Regions from separate parts of the Homo sapiens genome. Here regions 2 and 3 are each linked to region 1. Evidence: promoter capture Hi-C in human tissues and cell types (Jung and others, 2019). All regions are on one chromosome and are shown on one strand. The core of a region is centred on a gene start or on the middle of the fragment in contact, and the rest is flanking DNA. Distances in the headings are between cores, read along the strand shown.

Evidence for each region. Contacts are between HindIII fragments. The study calls those that stand out against the background at their distance.
Region 2: a fragment that was not itself captured here is called in contact with the fragment with the promoter of KLF17 in region 1 in 2 of the 25 tissues and cell types used here (dorsolateral prefrontal cortex and mesenchymal stem cells).
Region 3: a fragment that was not itself captured here is called in contact with the fragment with the promoter of KLF17 in region 1 in 1 of the 25 tissues and cell types used here (IMR-90 fibroblasts).

The regions. Positions count from the first base shown.
Region 1 is chr1:44,117,347-44,121,850 of GRCh38, forward strand. KLF17 (KLF transcription factor 17) reads left to right here and starts at 1,475. Exons shown (of 4, transcript NM_173484.4): 1 at 1,475-1,642. The coding sequence starts at 1,562. It also overlaps the pseudogene RN7SL479P. RefSeq lists a promoter at 464-1,452 and an enhancer at 2,021-2,788. The HindIII fragment of the contact is 4,517 bases long and covers 1-2,789 here.
Region 2 is chr1:44,397,424-44,402,271 of GRCh38, forward strand. No RefSeq gene overlaps it. Among named protein-coding and RNA genes, the nearest start is that of RNF220, 5.4 kb to the right of the region's middle. The HindIII fragment of the contact is 5,699 bases long and covers 291-4,848 here.
Region 3 is chr1:44,593,712-44,598,672 of GRCh38, forward strand. All of the region lies in intron 2 of RNF220 (ring finger protein 220), which reads left to right. Among named protein-coding and RNA genes, the nearest start is that of MIR5584, 51 kb to the left of the region's middle. RefSeq lists a silencer at 1,532-1,703. The HindIII fragment of the contact is 8,491 bases long and covers 1-4,961 here.

The DNA of each region.
Region 1 (4,504 bases), core at 225-2,724:
GCCTCAGCCTCCTGAGTAGCTGGGACTACAGGTGGGCACCACCTCCATGACCAAACACTGACATCTCTTTCTTGGACAGCTCCTTTTTTATTTATTTTATTTTATTTTATTTTATTTTATTTATTTTATTTTATTTTATTTTATATTTTATTTTATTTTATTTTTTGAGACGGAATTTTGCTCTTGTTGCCCAGGCTGGAGTGCAATGGCGCGATCTCGACACACTGGAACCTCCACCACCCGGATTCAAGCGATTCTCCTGCCTCAGCCTCCTGAGTAGCTGGGATTACAGGCACGCGCCACCACGCCTGGCTAATTTTTTATTTTTAGTAGAGACGGGGTTTCACCATGTTGGCCAGGCTGGTCTCAAACTCCTGACCTCAAGTGATCTGCCCGCCTCAGCCTCCCAAAGTGCTGGCGTTGCAGGCGTGAACCACTGCGCCCAGCCTCATCTCCTTTAGATTTCTAACTGGTGTCTCTGCACCCCTCTGGCCCTTTATAATCCATAAGGAGCCAAATGGTTTATTTTAAAAACATATATCAGATCACATCAAATTCCTGTTTAAAAGCATCAGTGGCTTCCCGCCACACTTAGAATAAAATCCAAATTCCTTTCTATGGTCTTCAAGGCCCTATCCCTCTGTCCTCGTGTCACTGTCCATGTGGTATCACCGTGGTCACCTTGCCTTCAATTTCCTTCTAGCACCGTTGGGCTCTTTTTTGCCTTAGAGCCCTTCAATCTTCCTATGGCTGGCTCCTTTCAGGCATTTCATTTTCAGCTCACATTTCTGTTTTGGTTTTCCATAGCACTCACCACCACCTAAAATTATAATAGTTAACAACTTTATTACTCATTTCTTGTCTTCCCGTATAAGATGGAAATTGACAGCAAGGACTTTGTTCTGTCCTGTTTACTATTTTACCCCTAGTTCAGAGATCAGTGCCCAACACACACGGGGCACTCAGTAAACACTGCGGAATAAACAGGTTGTGCCATGAAGCTCCCAGTCTTCAGTTCGTACAGACAAGGGACAGAGGTGCACAGACTGTAGCAGAAAAGCTCCAGCCCTTCCAAAGCTTATGGCAAGATCCCGACCTGAGAGAGTGCTGGTGGAGGCTCTCCTATCGGTAGAGGCCCTACACCCAACCTTGCCTCTCTCTCCAGCCTCGCCTCTCTCTCCAGCCTCCTCCTGGCTGGAGTTGGAGACCTGGGTGTCCTCAGTCCCCACTTGGGTGAAACAGTTGCTCAGACTGAGGGGTGGAATGGGTCGGTTGGGTGGGCGGACCAAATTCCTTTAAGAAGCGTTCAAGGCCTGAAGTGGCTGGCTGTCCGTGAGGCTGCCTTGGTTGGGGCATGGTGAGGGTGGGTGGCAGCCTGGGGCAGGGCTGCGAGGGCGGCGCAGGGCGGGACGGGTGGGGCCTGACCCCGCCCCTTGGCGCAGCTGTAAATAGGTAAATAGAAGGTGATTGTGGCGTGGCGATGTACCGATACCCGCCTGCGACGCCGTGGTGGCTGGTTCCCTGTCTCTTCAGTAGAGAGTCTAGACCCCACCCAGTCTTCATGTACGGCCGACCGCAGGCTGAGATGGAACAGGAGGCTGGGGAGCTGAGCCGGTGGCAGGCGGCGCACCAGGCTGCCCAGGTGAGTCAGGTGCCAGCCCCTGGCAGGCCGGGCGGGCCCAGGCTAGGGGGCGGCGGGGAGGGGAGGCCTTGGAGGAGAGGTGAGGCGGAGGGAAGCAGAAACCCGAGGGGTAGAAATCCGAGGGGAGGGGTGGCAAAGGAAGGAATGGGAGATTGGGGAGGGGTTGCAAAGGGAGGGATGGGAGATTGGGGAGGGGTTGCAAAGGGAGGGATGGGAGACTGGGGAGGGATTGGAAAGGGAGGGTTGTGAGATTGAGGGTGTAAATCATACGTCGTTTATTCCAACAATGTTCGCCCAGCAGTAGAGCTTGTGTTGGCCGCGTGGCGGGTAAGAGGGTTCTAGGCAACTTTCTGGTGAGGGACTTGAGTAGGCAGGACAGCAAAGACCAAGTTAGGAAGTGAGCAGGAAACAACAGGAAAAAAAAAAAAAACCCCAAAAATGTTAATTGGAGCCCTACTAAGTGGTAGGCTTTTCCCAGACCCTGGAAATACAATGATGAATTTACCATGAAACAGATATATATAAAATTGTATGAATAAATCGTTAACTGAATGATTGGAATTGTACAGCGTTACATGAAGAAGAAGTCAGGGGCGCGTGGGAGCAGATACCAGAGGTGTTTGACCCGATTTGGGAGGCTTAGGAGACAGCTGAGACTCTGTTCTGGGACTAAAGAACCCGTCAGGTGAAAGGTTCCCAGGTCTGAGACCACAGGCTGCATGCTTCCTCTTAGGAGGAACTGAAAGACCAGGGCCTAGACAGTGATGGAAGGGTGGCCCCAGGGACACCATTGAGATCATTCAGGGCTTGTTTATTCCAAGAACAGTGGGAAGCCATTGATGAGTTTAAACATAATCTGTCTCAATTAGATTTGCATTTTCAAAGGAGTGCCCTGGTGGATGTGGGCTGGATTCAAGGCAACAGTTAGAAAGCTTTTGTGATAATCCAGGTGAGAATTCAAATGGCGGCCTACCTGCAGAAGTGAGAGTGGAGATGGAGAAGCTAAATATATCATAGATTGTGGAGATGTTTTGGAGGCAGAGACCACAATCATTGGTCCCCGGGTGGTGAGGGAGACATCTAGAGTAACAGATTTCTTGCTTGCACAATTGGGTGACAATAGTGACATTTTCTGAGAGAGAGTGAAGGATGAGAAGGACAAGATTAATTTGTTGTTTGAGGGAGGTGGGCAAAGATGCTAGTGAATTTTGGCCATAGTCCATTAGAAGAGCATGTGGGCCATCCGAAAGGACTCAAACAATAGGTAGCTGGAAAATTCAGGAGCCATCTTCGCCAGAGCGAAGATTCCAGATTTAGGAATAGTTGGACTGTAAACAGAAACAAAACCACTGGCATGGGGAAGCTTGCCCAGAGAGAGCAGGGAAAGGGAAATCTGCAAAAGAAACTGTGAAGGAGGGGGTCTGAGAGAAGGGAAGGAGAAAAACTTGGAAAGTGTGGCCATGCGTGTTAGAGAGGCCAAGCATTCTAAGAAGGGTGTGGCCAGTGGTCGTATAAGCTCCTGAGAGTTCAAGCGAGGAGTCTGGAAAGTGCTGCTTGGTCATAGTGGGATGGAAGTCATCAGTGGTGACCTTTATGAAAGCTGGTTCTGTGGAGAGATAGAGGCCAGAGCAAATTTGGGAGACTCATAAGGCAAAGTAGTGGTGAAGGCATGTTTAGACAACTTAATTTGCCATGAAGGACTGGGAAAACAAGAGGGCCATTGCTGAGAGTTAGGGAGGAGAGGCTGAGCACCCCAGAGGTGCCCACCCAATAGTCATTTACCTAGTTCCTATTATATGTCTGTCTTATGCTAGTTGCTGAGCATATAGTGGTAAATAAAACAGATAAGGCTGGGCATGGTGGCTCACACCTGTAGTCCCAGCAGCCCAGGAGGCTGAAGCAGAAGGCTCGTTTGAGCTCAGGAGTTTTAGGCTGTGGTCCACAACGATCACACCTGGGCATAGCCACTGCACTTCAGCCTGGGCAACATAGTGAGATCCTGTCTCTAAAATTAATTAAATAAAAAATAAAACAAGATCTTCCCAACTCTTCTAGAGTTTTTTTTAAAAAATGAACATTTTTCTCTATAGCCAAAACCACATAATCAAACGTATCAAAATTGTATATATATATACACTTTCTTTTGAGACAGGGTCTTGGTGCTGTTGTCCAGGCTGGGGTGCAGTGGCACCATCTCAGCTCACTGAAACCTCCGCTTCCCAGGTTCAAGCAATTCTCGTGCCTCAGCCTCCCAAGTAGCTGGGATTACAGGCGTGTGCCACTCCACCCAGCTAATTTTTTGTAATTTTAGTAGCGGGATTTTGCTATGTTTGTCAGGCTGGTCTCAATCTTCTGCCCTCAAATGATCTACCCGCCTCAGCCTCCCAAAGAGGTGGGATTACAGGCATGAGCCGCCACGCCCAGCCGATAATTCCTTTAAATTATCTTAGATGCAAGCCTTATTCAAATGCCCCTAGCTATTCCTAAAATGTACTTCGTAGCTGGTACGTCCAAACCAGAATTTAAGACCATACACTGTATCTGGTGATTATGTCCCTTGAGTCTCTGAAATTAGAATAGTTTTATTTTTTCATGATTGGGATTCAGTTTTTCATGATGCTAACTTTTGTCTTATAGAATGTTCCTTTCCGATATATCAGATTGCTTCCTCATGATAACATTTAGCTTTATCTTCTATCACTTGTATTACCTTTAAGTTATGATTAGATCTTACAGCTTAACTGGATTCAAGATTTTTGGCAAGAATGCCTCATGTGTATGGTAGGTTTCATCTTGCATTACATCAGGAGACACATCTGGCTACCATTTGGTGATACTTGTATTAAGGTAGCGAAAAGCCTC
Region 2 (4,848 bases), core at 1,890-4,389, 280 kb after region 1:
AATAAATATTTATTGAGTTGATGAATGAATACAAGCAAATAACATGACTCTGAAATCTGCACACTTCCCTCTTTTCCTCCGGAAGCATTCTATTGTCTAGAGAAGCTTGGGGATGACAGTGAAGGTGAGCAAGATTCAGAGTACTTTTAGGAAGAGGAAGAAGGATGTTTCCAAATCAAACAATAAGGATACTAAAATCTTGCTCCAAATGGAAATCAGCATGGAATAGCCGCTGTGTTGGATAAGGTGAAAGCAAAATGGCTGGCTATCTGTTCTATACAGGTCTGTTCTGATCTATGCTTTAAAAAAAATCCTTTTCAATTTCTAGAAGTTTCAAGTCACAAACTTGCACTTTGAGGGGACAACATGGAACTCTCACCTATTGAACCCTTACTATTTGCCAATAACTGTGGTGAGTACCTTTCATTTAATCCTCATATCAACTTCATTAAGTTAACATTGTCTCCGTTTTAAGCTTGTGGAAACAGAGCTTCAGAGAAGGTAAATGTGACAAGGTCATTCAACCAATAAGTGGTTGAAATAGGATTCAAACCCAGCTCTGCCTTCAGTTGCTCTTAACTATGATGCTATATTTCCATGAAATTTTAATAACTCTCATCACTACAAATACTCTTTATGACACAACTCTTGCATAAATTGTTCCCTGACATACCATGGGCATTATTCTTGTAATATTTTCCACTCTTCAATATTCAACTTTTATATCTTTTAATGTCCTACTTAAATCTTATCTTTGTAAACTATCACAAGAACAAAAAACCAAACACCGCATATTCTCACTCATAGGTGGGAATTGAACAATGAAAACACATGGACACAGGAAGGGGAACATCACACTCTGGGGACTGTTGTGGGGTGGGGGGAGGGGGGAGGGATAGCACTGGGAGATATACCTAATGCTAGATGACGAGTTAGTGGGTGCAGCGCACCAGTATGTCACATGTATACATATGTAACTAACCTGCACATTGTGCACATGTACCCTAAAACTTAAAGTATAATAATAATAATAATAATAATAAAAATCTTATCTTTGTCCAAAACACTTAAGGACATCTCAAACCATGATGGTTTCTCTGGCTTTTGAAAACCTGCAACAATTTGCCTGTATTACCCATTTGATATATTTTATCTGCATTATAAAATTGAATTTGGGTTTATTTAACCTTTCTTTTGATTATGAGTTAATGCTACAATTCTACAAGCTTCTTAGGGGATAGGAAGTGCATTTTGTGCCTTTTTGGGGGGATGGGGTGGGCATCTTTTACAGCTTCTTCCTACTGCCTTGATTCATACATAGTATGTAGTCAGTAAATATTTGTTGCTAGATTGCCAGACGGTCAATCTTGGCATTGATATTGGCTGACTGTCTTTGGGAGCTACCTGCAACTACTTCAGAAAGTTTCTTGTTGGAGTCAATATGAAAAATGGAGGATTTATTATTTCTACTGTGAATTTATTTTTTCTTTTTGGGTGATAAAACTGGAAATCTCAAAAAGTCTCCTGGTTTATGTGTTGGGCATAGATGAGGGAGATTCCTTTTGAAAGTGAGTGTAGAAAAGCAGACTTTTTATTTTGTGAAGGTTTTTTGAAGCTTACAAGTCCTTATATATATATTTTAAAAGTCCAGATTGCTCAAACTTGAAGTTCCCCTCCTCCTTGCTCCTCCTTCAGGGCCTTTTTCTAAACCTACTTCCCTTAAAATGACTTTTATTGATTTTCACTCAATGAGAGTTATTCTTCAGAATGAGGATGGAAGGGTCAGAGAGAGAAATTTACCCTGTGTTACCTGTGGAATAGGTGTGCATTTGTATCCAGTCTTGCTTTATTTGTTCTGTTTCCTGTATCCAGAAACCCACACACTGGGGATCATTAGGTCCTCTGTGTCTTGGTCGGAGCTTGAGTACAGTATACTAATAGATCAATTTATGTGTTCATTCATTCAGCAAACATTTATTGAGCAGGCATGTCCTAGGCATTGGAGATACTAAGATGAATAAGACATAGTCACTGCCCTCAGTGACCTCCAGATGTACAAGAAGACACCAGCCTGAAGGCAGCTGGGGTCAGGGAACAAGGCAACTGAATATCCTCCATCAGGAAATCCTAAGAGAATAAAAAGACCAGTCTTGTAACATAAATATAAACATCTAATCAAATTAGCCAATTAGAAAAACATTTTTAAGAAAAGGCAATCTTTTACCAATTTGTCCTATGTATCTTTTGCATTTTTTCTCCCTAATTTCTTTGTCTCCAGTCTTACTCGTCTCCAGTCTACATTTAAAATTGCCTCCAATTTTATTTTTCTAAACCCTGATCTGATCATGTCATTCCTGTTTTGAGAATTTTCACTCATTCATTCTGCACTTTTTATCAATCACCTACTGGATGTTTCCAGTGAGTGTGAAGTGTTTGGGATGCAGTGGTACGCAAGCAGGCCCTACCTTCAAGAAGCTTTAGAATCTAGACCAGGTAGTACTTTCTGAATCTTGTCCTTTTATCTAAATCAGTTGAGTCCGACAGACACCAGTATCTGTTGTGCTAAGTACCACGCAAAACAACTAAGACAGAATTCTGCTTTAAGCAGATCAGAGTCTATTAGAGGAATCTGAAAACAATCGATAATTCCAGTACAATGTGATAAATGAATAGATGCATGCATAGACTGCTATGATAATCAGATTTGAGGAGAAGAGAGGCTGGTGGGCAGGGTGGCTTCCTGGAAGAGTCCATCCCAAACAAAGTCTTGAAGTATAAATAGGAGTTGGCTAGACACTGGGAGTGTCCAGTTAGTTCCTTAATGTGACAAACAAGATCTTTCACAGTCCATTAATCTATTTTTCCAGTCTCCCCTTATATCTTCTACATCTTTTTTTTCAGCTCCCAGCCCAATTTCTGAATGTTTTTCAAATTAGGAATGAATGCCCCTGGTTTATTTAGTGTTGTGCTTTGGATGTGAGAAAGCACCAAATAAATGTGGTGCATCTTTCTGGAGCATCAGTTCTATCAAATGATAAGTAATTTAAAACATGGTTTTATATTAAAGCTTAATATATTTGTGGAATTGAAGGCAAAATTTTCATTCATTTTTCAAGATAAAACAGGATACATAAATTTCAAGCTAGTGGCAAGCCATTTTAGGCTTGCCCTTAGACATCACCACCTGCACCACCTCTTTCTTGAGGAAAAATTTGAGATGTACTATCGGAATGTGGCAGGAAATTTCATGTGCCTTTGCATACGCTATTTGCTCATCCTGGAGTGCTCTTCCTATTTTTCTCCCTTGATAAACTACTTATCCTTCAAAGCCCAACTTAAGTGTCATTCCATATAACAGTCATTTTTAACGAAGCTTAAATGTCATCCCATATGATAGTTATTTTTTAAAACACCCACTTCTGTCTCTGCCTCCTTTCCTAATAGCTCCAGGCAGACTCAGCACCTCCTTCTTTTGTGTTTCTACCACCCTATACTCAGAATATCCATTATAGCACTGCTTTCATTGTGCCATATGTATTTGCTTTCCAATCCATCTCTGCTGTTGGACTATAAACCTCTCTAGGGCAGGCACTATTATTTATCTTTCTATTCTTAGTGACTGGCACTTGGTAGACACTCAATAAATGTTTGTTGAATTTGTGGACCATTCCTTACTCTGCATCACCTCTGTTCTTATATAAAGTGATATCTCCTTTACTTCTCATCTTCAGGGAATGATGTGTTACACAAAAGTATATTTTCCAGACAACTGAAATTTACTTCTTAAAGTATCAAAATCTTCTGTTTAAATCATTTTGGTAGGAATTTATTTTTCTATATTTTCACACGTGTGCTTACTCTCATAAGTAAAATATACTAAGTGTAATGTGTTCCTTGATGACCTATCCCCAAAAGTATCAGGATATGTTTGGTTGGAATTCATGACATCCGCTGGGAGCACTGATGGGATAGGGCTTTTTGCCTTCACACCAAATAACCCTATTTTGTTGTAGTTTTTGAGTTATGGTGCTTGCTTCTTATAGTTCGGTCACCATTTCTCATTGTCAGTGTTCTTGCTCTAACAACACTACCCTTTGCTCTTTTTATATACGTTTTAACGGATATTAAAATTACAAAACTAATATATGTTCACTGAAAACAAACAGAAGTCTATGGAGTAAAAAGTCAAAGTCCTCCCTTCATTCCTGTCTAACCCCCCACCCTGTCACGTCCACACTTTCACTCCCTAGCCATAACCATTGTTAACGGTTTAATGTATCCCTACAGGCCTTTTTCTGTCAATGTGTGTGTACACGTATACGGACAAATATCAAATCATATTGTACATACTGTTGTATGACTTGCTTTTCTCACTCGACAGTATATAATAGGTATCCTTCTATGTCAATACATCCTAGTCTATATCATTCTTTTTAATGGCTGCCCCCTTTTAATTTGACAATCTTAATCAGCTGTGAATGGGAAAGCCAAATAATCAAGCTTATTAGAATTGTACCTAAGAAAGAATAAATCGGCTCTGAATGAAGGCTTGTGTAATTCTCCTAGGAGGGAAATGTGTTAACTTTAGTGCATGGACTTTGTAATGTTTATTTTGGCTATTCTGGGACCCTTTTTGCTTATTTCCTGCTTCATTGTGTTTTGGATAGCTGAGGTTGCTGGACATATGACCTGTGAATTAGTGAGGTATTACATATTCAATTTTGCATTACATAATTTTGCTCTGATTTTATGAGGGATTTGCATTTAATTTATTCGTTTAGATTGCTGTTATAGACAGTGATTAATTCTAGTTTCTGAGTACTTGCATCGTAGTGAGGACCACTGCAT
Region 3 (4,961 bases), core at 953-3,452, 480 kb after region 1:
TGTCTCAAAAAAATTTTTAAATGATATAAAATAAAATAATTGCACTCTTAAAAATCACAAAATATGAGACTTAAAAGGGATAAACTCTTGGCCGGGCATGGTGGCTCACGCCTATAATCCCAGCACTTTGGGAGGCCAAGGCGTGGGTGGATCATTTGAGGTCAGGAGTTCAAGACCAGCCTGGCCAACATGGTGAAACCCTGACTCTACTAAAAATACAAAAATTAGCCGGGCATGGTGGTGGGCACCTGTAATCCCAGCTACTTGGGAGGCTGAGGCAGGAGAATCGCTTGAGCCTGGGAGGCGGAGGTTGCAGTGAGCTGAGATGGCACCACTGTACTCCAGCCTGGGTGACAGAGTGAGACCCCATCTCAAAAGAAAAAAAAAAAAGGGATAAACTCTTATAGTCCAGCTTGAATAACAACCTACCACCCCTGCAGGAATCCGCTTCTGCACTACCCAGAAGGGCCAGGCAGTGGACAGAAAAAGAAAAGTGAAAGGCCCCCAAGAGAAACTTTGATTTGAAAAGAAAAGCCCTGGAGGGCGCTTTGCCTCCCCCCCTCCCTCCTTGTTACTTCATTCCCTCCTCCTCCTTTCACTCCCTCCATCCTACCCCCTTCACCTGCACTTGGGACTGGGCTAATGGACATGCTTCCTCCCAGCCTTCCCCACGTCCCAGGAAGTGGAGCCCATCGGGCAGAGCAGAGCCGTACGGGGTAAGGCAGAGACAGAACTTTCCCCAACAGAAATGGCCTTGCAGGGAGAGTCTGGGAGAGCAGGGAGAGCCTGTTCTCAACTAGACTGCCAAATTGCTCTTTTCCTTTGTCTGGAGCAATGCCTGAGCTCCCTTGCTGAGTTCTGTAAGAGCCTGATCCAGGCATGTGTCCCCAGACCCTATTGCCCCACCGCCCTGGCTCAGGCTGGTATCCAGAAGAAGGTATGGCAGAGGACCAGGAAGGTTATCAGAGAGGCTAAGGGGGCATTCGGTCTTGGGACAGGACTGAAGCAATCAATAGCCCATTGGGAACTGGGGTTAATTTGGGGAATTTGGATTGGATTGGATTGAAGTTTAGGACTTGGGCTAGGAGGTAGGGCTGGGTTGGTTCAAAGTACTGGAGTTAGGTTTAGGTTCAGAGCTTCTCTAGAAACTGCCCAACTCATGCTGGTCTAGCTAAGCCCATCTCCAAAAAAAGAGGGGGCTCTACCCTTGGCCTCTGATTCGGGGCTTTATTTAAAGACATAGGAGTGAGGGTGAAGATTGGCTTTGGAAGACAGCAGAGCCAGTGCCTCCCCACTATGGAGCCGTTTAGTTAGGACCTTGCCACTCAAAGAGCATCCACAGACCCGCAGCACTGGTCTCACCTAGGAGCTTGGTAGAAATGCAAAATCTAGGATCCACTCTAGAGCTGCTGAATCAGAATCTGCGTTTTAGATTAACCTCCAAGTGTTCCATGGACACTTAAAGAAAGTGTGAGAAGCCTGGTGAAGGCTCTGAGTGAAGGAAGGCCCGAGGTAGGGGTGGGAGGCCAAAGGGCACCCAACACCTCGGCCGGCTCCGGGGCCCCTGCCTAACACCCCCTCCCAGTGCTGGAGCCACAGCGACACCTACTGGCCACGGACACCTAGGCCACCCCCTCCAGGACGCCCGGGCCCTGTGGTCCATCTGGCCCAGCCAGTCCTGCACCCTGAAGCTGGCATTCCTGAGTTCTGGGAATCTGGCTCCCCGGGACAGACTAGGGGAGCAGGTACAGGATGGGCCAGGGCTCAGTGCACAGCAGGGTTGTGTGCAGGCTGGGGCTCTGGGGCCTCAGTGTGAAGAAGACAGGATCAGTAAGCAGGTGTTTTCTCAGGGACATGATGCTCAGATCACATCCCCAGCCCTGGCATTCTCTCCAGACTCAGCAATACTGAGCACGTGTTTGTCTGCTCTCTTCACTGAAACCCTCAGCCAGAATGGACAGGGTACAGCTTTCCATTCCAACCAGCATCAAGCAGATGCCCTGTGAGGAACAGAGATTTTTATTTTACTTTTTATTTTATTATTTTATTTTTATTTATTTTTTATTTTTTGAGATGGAGTCTCGCTCTGTCGCCCAGGCTGGAGTGCAGTGGCGCAATCTCAGCTCACTGCAAGCTCCACCTCCCGGGTTCACGCCATCCTCCCACCTCAGCCTCCCGAGTAGCTGGGACTACAGGCGCCCGCCACCACGCCCGGCTAATTTTTTTGTATTTTTAGTAGAGACGGGGTTTTGCCGTGTTAGCCAGGATGGTCTCGATCTCCTGACCTCATGATCCGCCCATCTCAGCCTCCCAAAGTGCTGGGATTACGGGCGTGCGCCGCCATGCCTGGCCGATGAGCAAAGATTTTTGAACCTATGTCTAAATGACTCTTCTGGAAATGGACTTTTAGGAAGGACAACAACTAAAAAGCAACTCAAGGAAGGGGAGCAGGTAGGATATTTCTGGGATATTTCCACTGTAGTGGTTTCTGGAGACTCCCATGAAAGAATTCTAAGTCAAAAGGGGAGACTGAGGCCAAAGGGCAGAGAAGTAAAAAGACAGAGAAGGGGCTGGGTGCGGTGGCTCATGCCTGTAATCCCAGCACTTTGGGAGGCTGAGGCAGGTGGATCACCTGAGGTCAGGAGTCAGAGACCAGCCTGGCCAATATGGTGAAACCCTGTCTCTACTAAAAATACAATAATTAGCTGGGTGTGGTGGCAGGTACCTGTAATCCCAGCTACTCGGGAGGCTGAGGCAGGAGAATCACTTGAACTCGAGAGGCGGAGGTGGCAGTGAGCCCTCGTGCCATTGCACTCCAACCTGGGGGACAAGAGCAAGATTCTGTCTCCAAAAAAAAAAAAATAGTACAGTGCTTTGCACAGAGTAAGCATTTGATTAGTGTTACCACTTCCCTCAGTCACAAAAAAAATAAATAAAGGAAAAACGATAGGGAAGGAAGCCGACCCACTTCCAAGGCAAGGCTCAGCTGACCCATCCCAAGGGACCTGGCTGGCCCAGGGAGGAGAGAAGGGCCTCTTTCTAGGCAGCAGTGAGCCTCCCCTCCCATCATTCCCAAATGCCAGTTATTGCTGGATCCCTTCCCTCTAGTCCGCTCTCAACTATGAGGAGTTTGCCCAAGAACTAAATGAATGTGATTGCCCACCAGTGTTTGCCATTAGTGGTGATTAGTTAAAACATCAGAGTCTAAACAGTCAATTGGTTCTAATAATTAATACTATGGCTCAGCTGTGATTGAGAGAGAACAAGCGAGTGGGAGAGAGGAAGGGAGGAGGATAAGGGACATGGAAAAAGAAGAGAGAAAGGGATTGGCAGAGGAGCTGCAGCTCTGTAGCTACCATTTCCTGACCCACATGCCAGATGCTGTGCTATAGAGTGCATCCAGCTCCAAATTCTGTGCTCTTTCGAGACATTTTATGTAAGTTATACCACCAAGGTATCCTAATCACCCTGTTAGGCAAGTATAATTATTATCTTCTTTTTATAGGTAAGACAAAGGAGGCACAGGAAGGTAAAAGCTAGCAGATGCTCCGTAATAATTTGGTGAATGAATGGATAAATAAATGAATGAAGTAGCCAGAAGTGAAATTCAAACCCAGGTTAGCATGGCTCCAAAAACTTTGGGGGGAAAAGGGGCAAGGAGGGGAGAATTTGAAGAGACAAAGGAAAACAAGACAGAAAACGTACATCCTTCTCTGTCTCAACATACATACACGCCCTTCTCTCTCTCTCTCTCATGCACACACACACACACACACACACACACACACACACACACACACGAACCTCCCTCACCTCCCTCTCTCACGCTGTGCCCCTCCCTCCCATCCACACCTCTCACGTTCTTTTCATACACAACATGTCTGTTATGCACCCCTTTCTCTCATCTCCCCTCACACACCCACTCTTGCACACACACCGTTTCTCACGAATGTCTCCCAGATGGCTCCGGCACACACGCACCTCTCTGTCTCATAGAAGCCTCTCACATGCACATATTCACCCCTCTCTCAGCCACACTTTTTTATTTCTCCTTGCACACTTCTTGGTCTTTCTCACTCTTACATGGACCTCTTTCTCTCATGTACACGCCTCCTCTTCCCGGCGCCCTTGTCTGTCTTCCTCAGTGCGCTATCTCCAGTCTCAAAGACAGTTTGGGAAATGAAATAAACATACACCCGTCTACCTCCTTCACATACAACCCCCCACTGTCTCCTCACACCCCACCCCACCCACCTCTCTCTCTCTCTCTCTCTCGTTCTCTCTCGAACACAGGTGTACACTTTGGGACATATCCTGAAACCAGCCCCCTCATGCCCCCTGCCCGCCCCCTCCAAGAGTCAGGCCTCCAGATGTGCTCTCTCTGGCTAGGCTTGCTAATCTTTGAACTGTCCCCAGATCTTGAATGGTCATGTGGACTTTCCTGCCTGGTGATGGGGAGGGGGAAACAGGGAGGGGGCTAAGCCCAGAGTCCTCAGTTATTCTGGAGCAGGTTCAGCTCCTCCCCACCCCTCCCCAGGTCATGAGCAGCAGCAGGAGCTGCAAGCGAGCAAGATGGCTGTGTGTGTATTGCTATTAATCACCCCTCCTGGTCCGCTAACGAGGCTAATGCGGTAAGTGACAATAGCCCATCTTGGTTCCTGATTTAGGGGCTCAGGACGGAAGCTGGGCTCCTGGGAGTGAAGACGTGAATTCTCCACGACACTAAACCTTCAAATAAATCTCCTCCAGTCAGAGAAGCCCAGGGCACTAAATCCCACACGCCGGTAATTGAAACCCTTAGAGCTTTCTTGGGTAGGGAAATTGCTGAGTGAGAGAGAGAAAGCGTGCAGCCCAGGGGTTCCGGGTGGGGCTTGGGCCCACAGAGAGGCCTGCCGAGGGCTCTGGGATAGGGGAGCTGCTGGGGACCCTCTAGGAGCACGTGACTGGCCATATGTCCTGGT